Regions from separate parts of the Homo sapiens genome. Here all the other regions are linked to region 1. Evidence: promoter capture Hi-C in human tissues and cell types (Jung and others, 2019). All regions are on one chromosome and are shown on one strand. The core of a region is centred on a gene start or on the middle of the fragment in contact, and the rest is flanking DNA. Distances in the headings are between cores, read along the strand shown. Region 1 holds the start of TFRC (transferrin receptor). Region 2 has its middle 26 kb from the start of SMCO1. Region 3 overlaps MUC20 (mucin 20, cell surface associated).

Region 1 (4,267 bases), core at 654-3,153:
TCTGCCTCCCAGGTTAAAGCGACTCTCGAGCCTCAGCCTCCTGAGTGGCTGGGATTACAGGTGTGCACCACCATGCCCAGCTAATTTTTGTATTTTTCGTAGAGACGGGGTTTCACCATGTTGGCCAGGCTAGTCTCGAACTCCTCACCACAAGTGATCCACCTGCCTCGGCCTCCCAAAGTGCTGGAATTACAGACGTGAGCCACCATGCCCGGCTAATTTTTGTGTTTTTAGTAGAGACAGGATTTCACCATGTTAGTCAGACTGGACTCGAACTCCTGACCTTAGGTGATCCGCCTGCCTTGGCCTCCCAAAGTGCTGGGATTACAGGCGGGAGCCAATGCGCCCAGCCGAGGGTCATTTTTAACTAGCATTGTGATCGATTCAGGTTTAGCTGGGAATCTTGCTCCATGACATTTAAATACATTATCAGAGGCAAGTAACTGCCTCGCCTTAGGGCGGAGTTAGCCAAACTGCTGTCTATCTAACAATCTTCAACACAGGCTAGGTTTACAGCCACCATTACTTGATAAGAACATCCAAAGGAAATTGAAGGATGCTATGCTATATATAACCTTGCAAAATCGATGACAAAAATTATCTTAACTCTGAGTTTTCTTGAGAAGCATATTGTAACCCAAAATTCAGGGCCGGGGGGCGGGGGGAACCAGCAGGGTCCACAAGTACTCTAGACAGCCTAACCTTAATTTTCACAGTAAGCTTAGCATATAAGCATGGGGTAGCCAAATACAATTTCCTACTTTAATCCTCTTATCAACGGGGAAGAAAATGGAAAAAGCTGCAGAATCCAGTCCCCCGGGTAAGTGAGGTCTCTACAAGCAGTAAGCAGAGGGAAAGCGTTATCCGAAAAGAGCCGAATCAGAATGTATTTTCTTACCCACCCTCCCAACCTTAAAAGAACTGTCCAGCAGAATGTGACACAATCGGCCTCTCCGGCGCCCATCAATCCAGCACAGCCCTCTGACCACACCGCTAATCTCCAAGTATCTTTCACAAATAAGTCACTCCTATGGCTCCCGTCTTGTAGTGAGAACTGCTAGCAATATTCTTAATGTGAACACCTGCGGCGTTCAGTCGGATTCTGCCTTGAGAAAACAGAATCCACACACAAGGCGAACAGGCAGAGCATGGCAAGATCAGGTTGTACCAGAGCCGAAGGGTAAGTTTACAGAAACCCGTATCTAATTAATGCCTGTAACACGCTAGTAACCGAATCGGGGACAGCTTTGTCCCTTTCCGCAGTGAGAACGGGGCCCGCCCGGAGCCCGGGGAACCGAAGGTTTAGGAGCCCAAGGTCACCCACGAATCCCAGCCGTTCCCTGGGGCGACTTCCTGGAGCAGCCACGTGTTCCCCCGGCGCCGCACGCCGCGCAGCTGCACCTTGGCTGCGCCCGCGCTCCCGGACCCGCAGCCCGGAGCCGGCGCACTAGGGCCTGCGGCCTTCAAGGGCGAGGACCCGAAGTCCCCGGGGCTGAGAGCGACAGTGGGGGTACACCTGGTCTCGTCATTCGTCGCTCTGTGACCGAGGAGGCGGGCAAGAAGGCAGAGAGAAGGGAAGGGACGAGAGGCGAAGGGACGAGAGGCGCAGGGACGCCTCTGCGCACAGCCGCCGACCCCGTGTACCTGCAGCCGCTCGAGGCGCCGCCACAGCCCCTTCCCCACAGGCTCGCGGCCCCGCTCCATCCCGGCCGCCCCGCCTGGGGCCGCGACCGCTTTCCCGCTCCCCGTGCGGCTCCCTATGGCTGCTGGACAGCACCGGAGCGGCCGCTCCAGCCAGCCCCGCAGGATGAAGGGAGGACACGAGGGTCGGTGTAGTTCTAGAAGCCCGCACTCACACTAGCGCGTCCTCCGTCCCGAGCCGCCACCCGATATCCCGACGCTCTGAGGGGATGGCGGCCCCTAACCGGCGGTTTATAGCCTGGCCCCGCCCCCGGCCCCCAGGGGGGCTGTGCGTCACTTCCTGAGGCACGTACGCTCGCGAGGTGCTCTGACAGATCGCCCGGGGGGCGGGGATGCGCGCGCAGCGGGCGGGGCCCTATGCGGAGGGCGCTGCGGGCGAGGCGAAGGCCAAGGGAAAAGGCGCCAAGGCAGCAGGTGCCCCGAGGAGCCGCGCGATGGGCGCACTGGCCTCTGCCTCGGCGCCTTCCTCCACCCTGGTAGCCTGGCAGCCTCCGCCTGACCTTGACCAACCTCCAGTCCCTGCAGTGCTAGGTCCAATCTGTTGGCGTTGACGCTTAAATGTTGGATATTGCACTGCGGCAGTGCCTTGAAATGTACGTGCAGGATGGAATGTTAGGTAACTATTAAAGCCACTCTTGTGAAGATGTATTTTGCAGCCTCAGAAATACAAAAAGGAAAAGAAAAGCAAAATGCAAATTTTTATTCAGAATGTATACAAGCTGCACTTTAACCAAGACTAGCGGAGTGCTTTGCGTAATGTTTAATGCATGAGGGAATAAAAGGGAAAATAGAAACAAGTGACTTAATAGGGTGATAGGATTGTAGATTAACTTTCGTTTTCATTGCCATCGCTGTTATTGGATTGTGCAATGAATAACAAATAAATAAAATTCAATTCTTGTCACTGTTTAAACTCTTTCCAAACAATCACACCCTCTCCCTCCCTCTGGTCAGTAACCAGCAGGCCAGGGAGGTAGTAGCTACAATGCAAGAAAGCAACCCATACCTTAAAAAGCATTGCACATAAACTGACCTTCAGGCCCGTAGGGACACAGAACAGCCCTTTAAGAAGCAAATCCGTTTCTGGGCCTTGGGCTTTTACTCTTCCCTTTATTTCTTCTGCTCTAAGATAGAGAAAGTACTTGGGATTCTCACCGCCTTTCTCTTTACTCCCATTCTCTAAAATCTCTCTCCCCAAAGAGAAGTGTTTAAAAGTCATATGAGTTGCCAGGCGCGGTGGCTCACGCCTGCAATCCTAACACTTTGGGAGGCCGAGGTGAGCGGATCACGAGGTCTGGAGTTCGAGACCAGCCTGACCAATATGGTGAAACCCCATCTCTACTAAAAAAATTTCAAAAAAAATTAGCCAGGCATAGTGGCACGCGCCTGTAATCCCAGCTACTCAGGAGGCTGAGGCAGAAGAATCGCTTGAACCCAAGAGGCGGAGGTTGCAGTGAGCCAAGATCGCGCCATTGCACTCCAACCTGGGCGACAGAGCAAGATTCCATCTCAAAAAAAAAAAAAAGTCATATGAGCAGGAGCATTGCTGCACCTTTAATGATCTAATCAGGAAAAGGTTAAGGATGCACATCCACAGAGGGCCTACCTTAACATTCAGACACCAGGCCTGCTCCCCTGTGGTGTTCCTTCTTTATTTCTTTAATTATTAATTTTATTTATTTTTATTATTTTTACTTTTAAGACAGTGTCTTGCTCTGTCACCCTGGCTGGAGTACAGTGGCATGATCTCGGGCTCACTGCAACCTCTGCCTCCGGATTCAAGCGATTCTCCTGCCTCAGCCTCCCAAGTAGCTGGGACTACAGGTGTGTGCCACCATGCCAGGCTAATTTTTGTATTTTGAGGAGTGACGGGATTTTATCATGTTGGCCAGGCTTGTCTCGAATTCCTGACCTCAGGTGATCTGCCCACCTTGGCCTCCTAAAATGTTGGGATAACAGGCATGAGCCACCATGCCCAGCCTATTTATTTTTTATTTTTAATTTGACGCAGGGTTTGCTATGTAGCCCAGACTAGTCTTGAACTCCTGGGCTCAAACAATCCTCCTGCCTCCGGTCTCCCAAAGTGCTGGGATTATAGGCATGAGCTAACATGCCTGGCTTTCTGCCTTTCCTTGACTGAAGTATCTTTTAAAAAGAAACAAACAATGCTGGTATTTGCAGGTGAAAATCTTATAGCCTCATGGAGGACATAGGTTTAGGTGGCCAGATGCGATGGCTAATCCCTGTAATCCCAACACTTTGGGAGACTGAGGCAGGTGGATCTTCTGAGGTCAGGAGTTCAAGACCAGCCTGGCCAGCATGATAAAACCCCATCACAACTAAAAATACAAAATTTAGTCTGGCGTGGTGGCGCACACCTGTAGTCCCAGCTACTCCAGAGGCTGAGGCAGGAGAATCGTTTGAACCCGGGAGGGGGGTGGCTGCAGTGAGCTGAGATCACACCACTGCCCTTCAGCCTGGGCAGCAGAGCAAGACTCTGTCTCAAAAAAAAAAAAAAAAAAGAAAGAAAGAAAGAAAAGAAAAGAAAGAAAAATATGTTTAGGAG
Region 2 (4,267 bases), core at 1,768-4,267, 460 kb after region 1:
CATAGATTTCACAAAGCTGCTTTACAGCAGGTTCTTTTGCATTTGGCAAGTTGATACTACCTTGGGCAGAGAAATGACTCAATCATAAAATTTTTCTCTAATTGAATTACACCCATCACTTGGTTTATGCATTCTCAGTTTATAAATTTTAGATGAAAAAAATCTGAATATATATACCTGTCATTTATTTTAAAAATTTTAGATGTTGTTTGTTTTCAAACCGAAGATACTCTATGATATGTTATGGAAGATACATTCTTCCGTCACTTCTCCTACCACCGTGATGAATAGAGAACTGATGGTGGAACACTGGGGAAAGAGGTTATTGGCCCTTGTTTTGAGTGACTGTTAACTCTGGGGGGACTGTGTCTGCTGAGAAACCAGTCAAGGTGTTTCTGTTGAACACATGCCCAGTTCAAACTCTGGCTAGTCTCAAACTCCTGGGCTTAAGTCATCCTCCAGCCTCAGCCTCCTGAGTAGCTGGGACTACAGGCATGTGCCACCATGCCCAGCTTGTATTATTATTTCTTTTTTTTTGAGACGGAGTTTCACTCTTGTCACCCAGGCTGGAGTACAATGGCGTGGTCTCAGCTCATTGCAACCTTCGCCTCCCAGGTTCAAGCAATTCTCCTGCCTCAGCCTCCTGAGTAGCTGGGATTACAGGTGTGCACCACCACGCCTGGCTAATTTTTGTATTTTTAGTAGAGACAGGGTTTCATCATGTTGGCCAGGCTGGTCTCAAACTCCTGACCTCAGGTGATCCACCCACCTAGGCCTCCAAAAGTGCTGGGATTACAGGCGTGAGCAACCACACCCGGCCTGTATTACTATTTCTAACATCATAACTTCAAACGAGACAAAGAAAAGATGGAAAAAGTATTAATTTAAGTTGTGAAGCCTAATTTTAAAAATCCTTATTTTAGGCCGGGCATGGCGGCTCACATCTATAATCCCAGCACTTTTGGAGACCGAGGCGGGTGGATCATTTGAGGTCAGGAGTTCGAGATCAGCATGGTCAACATGATGAGACCGTCTCTAATAAAAATATGAAAATTTGGTGGCTCACACCTGTAATCCCAGCCCTTTGGGAGACCGAGGTGGGTGGATCACTTGAGGTCAGGAGTTCGAGACCAGCCTGGCCAACGTGCTGAAACCCCATCTCTACTAAAAATACAAAAAATTAGCCAGGCATGGTGGTGCGCGCCTGTAATCCCAGCTACTTGGAAGGCTGAGGCAGGAGAATCGCTTGAACCTGGGAGGTGGAGGTTACAGTGAGCTGAGATCGCACCATTGCACTCCAGCCTGGGCAACAAAAGTGAAACTCCATCTCGAAAAAAAAGAAAAAAGAAAAAGGCCGGGTGCGGTGGCTGATGCCTGTAATCCCAGCACTTTGGGAGGCCAAGGCGGGCGGATCATGAGGTCAGGAGATCAAGACCATCCTGGCTAACACGGTGAAACCCCGTCTCTACTAAAGATTCAAAAATTAGCTGGGCATGCTGGCGGGCGCCTGTAGTCCCAGCTACTCGGGAGGCTGAGGCAGAAGAATGGCGTGAACCCGGGAGGCAGAGCTTGCAGTAAACTGAGATCGCACCACTGCACTCCAGCCTGGGTGACAGAGTGAGACTCTGTCTCAAAAAAAAAAAAAAAAAAAAACCACACACACAACAAAAATTAGCCAGGCTGGTGGTGCGCACCTGTAATCCCAGCTACTTGGGAAGCTGAGGCAGGAGAATGGCTTGAACCTGGGAGATGGAGGTTGCAGTGAGCCGAGATAGCACCACTGCACTGGGTGACAGAGCGAGATTCTGTTTCCAAAAAAAAAAAAAAATCCTTATTTTAAGTGAAAAATTAGTAGAATTAAAGTAAATCAAGACAATATAAACATTAATGGTGGTGAAAGCTTGAAGCTCTAGTACAAGAGATTTGGGGTAGTAATAGGTCCAGAAAAAGCAGTAAGACACTTGTCTTGAAACTGCACTTTGTAGCAAGCAACCTTTAAAAAACTTAAGTTTTCAGCCCCGATTCAGTGGCTCACACTTATAATCCTAGCACTTTGGGAGGCTGAGCCCAGAGGATTGTTTGAGGCCAGGAGTTCAAGACCAGCCTGGGCAACATAGCAAGACCCCATCTCTAATTTTAAAAAATAAAAATAAATTAGTTTTGAGATATAACTTACATACAATAAAATTCAATAATTTAAAAAGTATGGCTTACTGAGCTCTGACAAATGTTTACAGTCATATAATGACTGCCACAATCATGATAAAGACCACAGAATATCCCCCATCACCCTGAAAACTTCCCTTGTACTTCTTTGCAGCCAATCCTATACCCTGCCTCTGACCCCTGGAAACCTCTGAGCTGCTTTCTGTTTTGCCTTTTCCAGAATGTCATATAAATAGAATCATATAGTATTTGGATATAAATGGAATCATTAGTATTTAGTCTGCTAGGCATATACTTGCTTCTTTCACATACCACAATGCTTTTGAGATTTGTCCATGTTCTTGCCTGTGTCCACAATCTGTTCCTTTTATTGCTCAATAGTATTCCATTGCACGGACACACTGTGAGTGGTTGAACAGTTGAGGGACATTTGTGTTATTTCCAATTTGGCTATTATGAACAAAGTAGCTATAAACATTTGGGTCAAGAATTTTGTGTGAACGTATTTTTTCATTTCCCTTTAAAATTTTTTTATTATTTCTTTTTCTTTTCTTAAAAATCCCAAATGTGATAGTATTTTATTTTTCTTGAGTAAATACCTAAAAATAGAATTGCTAGGTCATATTATAAGCATATGTTTAGCTTTAAAAGTGGCCCAACTGCTTTCCAAAGCGGCTGTACCATTTTGCATTCCTACTAACGATGTGTGAGAGTTCCCGTTGCTCCGCATTCCTGTCAACATTGTCAGTCTTTATAAGTGTAGCCATTCTAGTGGGTGTATACAGGTGTTACATTGTAGTTTTAATTTGCATTTACCTAATGACTATTCATGTCATGCACCTTTTCATGTACTTATTGGCCATTTATATATCCATATTGGTGAGGTGTCCAAATCTTTTTTTTTTTTAATTATACTTAAAGTTTTAGGGTACATGTGCACATTGTGCAGGTTAGTTACATATGTATACATGTGCCATGCTGGTGCACTGCACCCACTAACTCGTCATCTAGCATTAGGTATATCTCCCAATGCTAGAGGTATCCAAATCTTTTGCCCATTTTTTTTTTTTTAATTTTTATTTTTATTGATCATTCTTGGGTGTTTCTCACAGAGGGGGATTTGGCAGGGTCATGGGACAATAGTGGAGGGAAGGTCAGCAGATAAACAAGTGAACAAAGGTCTCTGATTTTCCTAGGCAGAGGACCCTGCGGCCTTCCGCAGTGTTTGTGTCCCTGGGTACTTGAGATTAGGGAGTGGTGATGACTCTCAACGAGCATGCTGCCTTCAAGCATCTGTTTAACAAAGCACATCTTGCACCGCCCTTAATCTATTTAACCCTGAGTGGATACAGCACATGTTTCAGAGAGCACAGGGTTGGGGGTAAGGTCACAGATCAACAGGATCCCAAGGCAGAAGAATTTTTCTTAGTAAAGAACAAAATGAAAAGTCTCCCATGTCTACTTCTTTCCACACAGACACGGCAACCATCCAATTTCTCAATCTTTTCCCCACCTTTCCCCGCTTTCTATTCCACAAAACCGCCATTGTCATCATGGCCCGTTCTCAATGAGCTGTTGGGTACACCTCCCAGACGGGGTGGTGGCCGGGCAGAGGGGCTCCTCACTTCCCAGTAGGGGCGGCCGGGCAGAGGCGCCCCTCACGTCCCGGACGGGGCGGCTGGCCGGGCAGGGGGCTGACCCCCACCTCCCTCCCGGACGGGGCAGCTGCCGGGCGGAGACGCTCCTCACTTCCCAGACGGGGTGGCTGCCGGGCGGAGGGTCTCCTCCCTTCTCAGATGGGGCGGCTGGGCAGAGACGCTCCTCACCTCCCAGACGGCGTCGCGGCCGGGAAGAGGCGCTCCTCACATCCCAGACGGGGCGGCGGGGCGGAGGCGCTCCCCACATCTCAGACGATGGGCGGCCGGGCAGAGACGCTCCTCACTTCCTAGATGGGATGGCGGCCGGGAAGAGACGCTCCTCACTTTCCAGACTGGGCAGCCAGGCAGAGGGGCTCCTCACATCCCAGACGATGGGCGGCCAGGCAGAGACGCTCCTCACTTCCCAGACGGGGTGGCGGCCGGGCAGAGGCTGCACTCTGGAC
Region 3 (4,267 bases), core at 1,001-3,500, 350 kb before region 1:
TGGTGGGCGCCTGTAATCCCAGCTACTTGGGAGACTGAGGCAGGAGAATCACTTGAACCCGGGAGGTGGAGGTTACAGTGAGCTGAGACGGAGTGAAACTCCGTCTCAAAAAAAAAAGGTAAGATAAAATAAGCAAATACAGCGAAGGCTTGGGAGTTTAAAGCTACATCTCTGAGGCAACAGGGACTTCTCAGGGGAGAAGTTCATTGTCAGAGGCTGCTTGGTCAGTCCAGCTTCTGGTCAGCCTGTAGCCTCCACCTCCACTTCCTGTCACTCTGCCCTTGGGCCTCATCTCTGTGTATCCGCAGCTTGTTACCACCTTTCTGGGGGAGGTGGGAATACAAATATTAATCACAACCACTCAATACATAAAGATATTATTGAATATCTTTCATGTTATAGGCAGGGGTGATATAAACATGTTTCACACCCAGTAAGCACTGGCCCCAGCAGAACGTTCTCTCCGGTGCCAGGCAGTGTGCCACCAGCTTTGCATATGTTATCTGATGCCAGGCAGTGTGCCACCGGCTTTGTATATGTTATCTGATGCCAGGCAGTGTGCCACCGGCTTTGCATATGTTATCTGATGCCAGGCAGTGTACCACCAGCTTTGCATATGTTATCTGATGCCAGGCAGTGTACCACCGGCTTTGCATATGTTATCTGATGCCAGGCAGTGTGCCACCAGCTTTGCATATGTTATGATGCCAGGCAGTGTGCCACCAGCTTTGCATATGTTATCTCCTCTATTTAACCTTCAAAACAGCCTTAGGAGGTGGGTAACACGACCCCATCTGACAGGGTTAAAGATGGTAGCTAAACTGCTCTGGAAAGTGAAGGGGTGGCCTGCCCCTCCACACCTGTGGGTATTTCTAGTCGGGTGGGATGAGAGACTGAGAAAAGAAATAAGGCACAGAGACAAAGTATAGAGAAACAACAGTGGGCCCAGGGGACCGTCGCTCAGCATACCAAGGACCTGCACCGGCACCAGTCTCTGAGTTTTCTCAGTTTTTATTGATTATTATTTTCATTATTTTAGCAAAAAGGAATGTAGTAGGAGAGCAGGGTGATAATAAGGAGAAGGTCAGCAAGAAACATGTGAGCAAAAGAATCTGTGTCATAATTAAGTTCAAGGGAAGATACTATGCCTGGATGTGCACGTAGGCCAGATTTATGTTTCTCTCCACCCAAACATCTCAGCAGAGTAAAGAATAATAAAGCAGCATTGCTGCAAACATGTCTCACCTCCCGCCACAGGGTGGTTTTTCTCCTGTCTCAGAATTGAACAAATGTACAATCGGGTTTTATACTGAGACATTCAGTTCCCAGGGGCAGGCAGGAGACAGTGGCCTTCCTCTATCTCAACTGCAAGAGGAGATCCTCTTTTACTAATCCACCTCAGCACAGACCCTTTACGGGTGTCAGCCTGGGGGACGGTCAGGTCTTTGTCATCCCACAAGGCCATATTTCAGACTATACATGGGGAGAAAGCTTGGACAATAACCTGCTTTCAAGGGCAGAGGTCCCTGCGGCTTTCCACAGTGCATTGTGCCCCTGGTTTATTGAGACTAGAGAATGGCGATGACTTCTACCAAGTATACTGCTTGTAAACATTTTGTTAACAAGGCACGTCCTGCACAGCCCTAGATCCCTTAAACCTTGATTTTATACAACACATGTTTTTATGAGCTCAAGGTTGGGGCAAAGTTACAAATTAACAACATCTCAGCAAAGCTTGTTTAAAGTACAGGTCTTTTTCAAAATGGAGTCTCATGTCTTTCCTTTCTACAGAGACACAGTGACAGTCTGATCGCTCCTTCTTTTCCCTGGAAAGAAAAATACTTTATTATTTGTTGATTAGATAAGACATTCATATGATTTGAAATGGAAAGGTACGAAAAGGTTCACCATAAAATGCCTTTCTCCCCTGGCTGTGCCCCCACCCAGTTCTCTCCACACATGTAACCCGTGAGATTGTCTCTTGTGTGTAATTTTCTGCACATGAAATGTACATACGGAAGCAAATATATGTGACTATTTCATCCTCCTCTTTTTTTTTTTTTTTTTTTTTGAGACAGTTTCGCTCTTGTTGCCCAGGTTGGAGTGTAGTGCTGCGATCTCAGATCACCACAACCTCCGCCTCCCAGGTTCAGGCGATTCTCCTGCCTCAGCCTCCTGAGTAGCTGGGATTACAGGCACGCACCACCATGCCCGGCTCATTTTGTGTTTTTAGTAAAGACGGGATTTCTCCATGTTGGTCAGGCTGGTCTCAAACTCCCGATCTCAGGTGATCCACCTGCCTCTGCCTCCCAAAGTGCTGGGATGACAGGTGTGAGCCACTGCGCCCAGCCCTGATTTTCATCTTACTGTTCTCCATTTGCAGGTGAAAATGGAGGTTTCCTCCTCCTGCGGCTGAGTGTGGCTTCCCCGGAAGACCTCACTGACCCCAGAGTGGCAGAAAGGCTGATGCAGCAGGTGAGTGGGCACTTTCCGGGCCAGGGGAGTAGAGGAAGGGGCGAGGTTCGCAGGGGCTGCAGGGAAGACCCGCAGGACACAGAAGAGCAGCTACCGCGCTTGGAAGGGAGTCTCGTTTCTTACGGAGAATTGGGAGCTGAATCTGAGGATCTCTGCCTGGCTTTGCTTCTGCCTGCCTTCTCCGAGTTCTTCATTTCCTTCTCTGCAATGTAAACATGTGACTCCTAGAGCCCCCAGTTTCTTCTGGTCCTTGGAAGCTTGGCCTTCTGGCCTCTGAGGCAAAGGTCAGTGATACTGATGGGAGGGTAGGTCGGACTCTTGGTTGCAAGTGGCAGAAACCCAAGTCAGGGCAGTTTATGCAAAAAAAAAAAAAAAAAAAAAAAGGCAAGGTCTGAGAAACCTACAAGTGTCTCTTCAGCTTCAGTACGGCTGGATCCAGCAGCTCCAGCGCCATCACAGGGACTTTCTCTTTCTTTCCCTGTCTTAGCTTTACTCCCTTCATTCTTCAGAGTCTTTCTTCATGTGTATGAAAAGGCAGCCTTGTTAGCCATAGATTCACAAGGGACTTCCATCTCCCCACATTTTCTTTTCTTTTTTCTTTTTCTTTCTTTCTTTTTGTTTTTTGAGACGAAGTCTCGCTCTGTCGCCCAGGCTGGAGTGCAGTGGTGCGATCTCAGCTCACTGCAAGCTCCGCCTCCTGGGTTCACGCCATTCTCCTGCCTCAGCCTCCCAAGTAGCTGGGACTACAGGCGCCCGCCACCACGCCCAACTAATTTTTATGTTTTTTTTTTTAGTAGAGACGGGGTTTCACCGTGTTAGCCAGAATAGTCTCAATCTCCTGACCTCGTGATCCACCCGTCTTGGCCTCCCAAAGTGCTGGGATTACAGACATGAGCCACCGCACCCGGCCCCCTCTCCCCAAATTTTCATGTCATCTGGGGAAGTGCAGGTCTCCATGGCCTGCAAGGGTCACCATGACTGACAACCCAGTCAGGATCCCATAGAGGAAGGATGAGCCCCAAGAAAATAGGGAGGCTAGGCAGAAAAAACCGCAGAGATGTATACTCTAGATGAGGACCATGATTGGGATGTATTTGTACAAGTTGGGAAAATTCTCCTAAAACCCACTGGATAGAACTTCCAATGGTAAAGTTCCGGGGTCAGGGTTTTGAGGATGGGGATGGTGTGGCTTGTTGGAGGTTAGACTGGGTCAGCTCAGTGCAGATGTCACGGGCCTGGCCTCACTGAGGGGTGGGTTGTTCTCCTAATGTGTGGTACAAAGTAGCAGATGGGGCATGATGGGAAGTGTCTAAGCTCTGCTCACAGATGTAACCGTGAAAACAGGCCCAGTGCACAGTCTAATGTGGATTGCCTCTTTGACAGTGCCCTTGCTAATACCTGAAGCTTGCATTCAGCACCTCTCACAGTCAATGGGACAGTGCCCTTGCTAATACCTGAAGCTTGCATTCAGCACCTCTCACAGTCAATGGGTGCCACACTGCTGAAAAGTGGCTCAGGCTTCCTGTCATCCCTTGCAAGGGTAAACCTGGCAGAGATGCTGGCTGGGGGTCTTATGCCAGGTGTAGAGTTCATAGCCAGGCTGGACAGGTGGAATGATTGCCCTTAGCAGAGGGAAGCAAGATATGTCCGTGGAGAGTGGGATCCTTTGTTGCAGGCGAAAGAAAACCTCTGTCTGTCGTAAGTAAAAGGGGGATTTGTTGGCAGCGTCCCAGAGTGCATAGAATCAAAGCAATGCCAGGACAGCAGGCTTGGAAAATAGGCAGGAGGGCCC

What was found. The method cuts DNA at HindIII sites, captures the fragments that hold promoters and counts their contacts. A contact is called where the count stands out against the background at its distance.
Region 2: a contact is called between a fragment that was not itself captured here and the fragment with the promoter of TFRC in region 1, in 1 of the 25 tissues and cell types used here (IMR-90 fibroblasts).
Region 3: a contact is called between a fragment that was not itself captured here and the fragment with the promoter of TFRC in region 1, in 1 of the 25 tissues and cell types used here (mesenchymal stem cells).

Annotation. Positions count from the first base shown.
Region 1 is chr3:196,080,187-196,084,453 of GRCh38, forward strand. It overlaps TFRC (transferrin receptor), which reads right to left and starts at 1,904. Exons shown (of 19, transcript NM_001128148.3): 1 at 1,857-1,904. RefSeq lists an enhancer at 156-655 and silencers at 1,537-1,836, 1,887-2,226. The HindIII fragment of the contact is 11,516 bases long and covers 1-4,267 here.
Region 2 is chr3:196,539,352-196,543,618 of GRCh38, forward strand. No RefSeq gene overlaps it. Among named protein-coding and RNA genes, the nearest start is that of SMCO1, 26 kb to the left of the region's middle. The HindIII fragment of the contact is 9,111 bases long and covers 1-4,267 here.
Region 3 is chr3:195,727,265-195,731,531 of GRCh38, forward strand. It overlaps MUC20 (mucin 20, cell surface associated), which reads left to right. Exons shown (of 4, transcript NM_001282506.2): 3 at 2,384-2,475. Among named protein-coding and RNA genes, the nearest start is that of MUC20, 8.4 kb to the left of the region's middle. The HindIII fragment of the contact is 3,313 bases long and covers 595-3,907 here.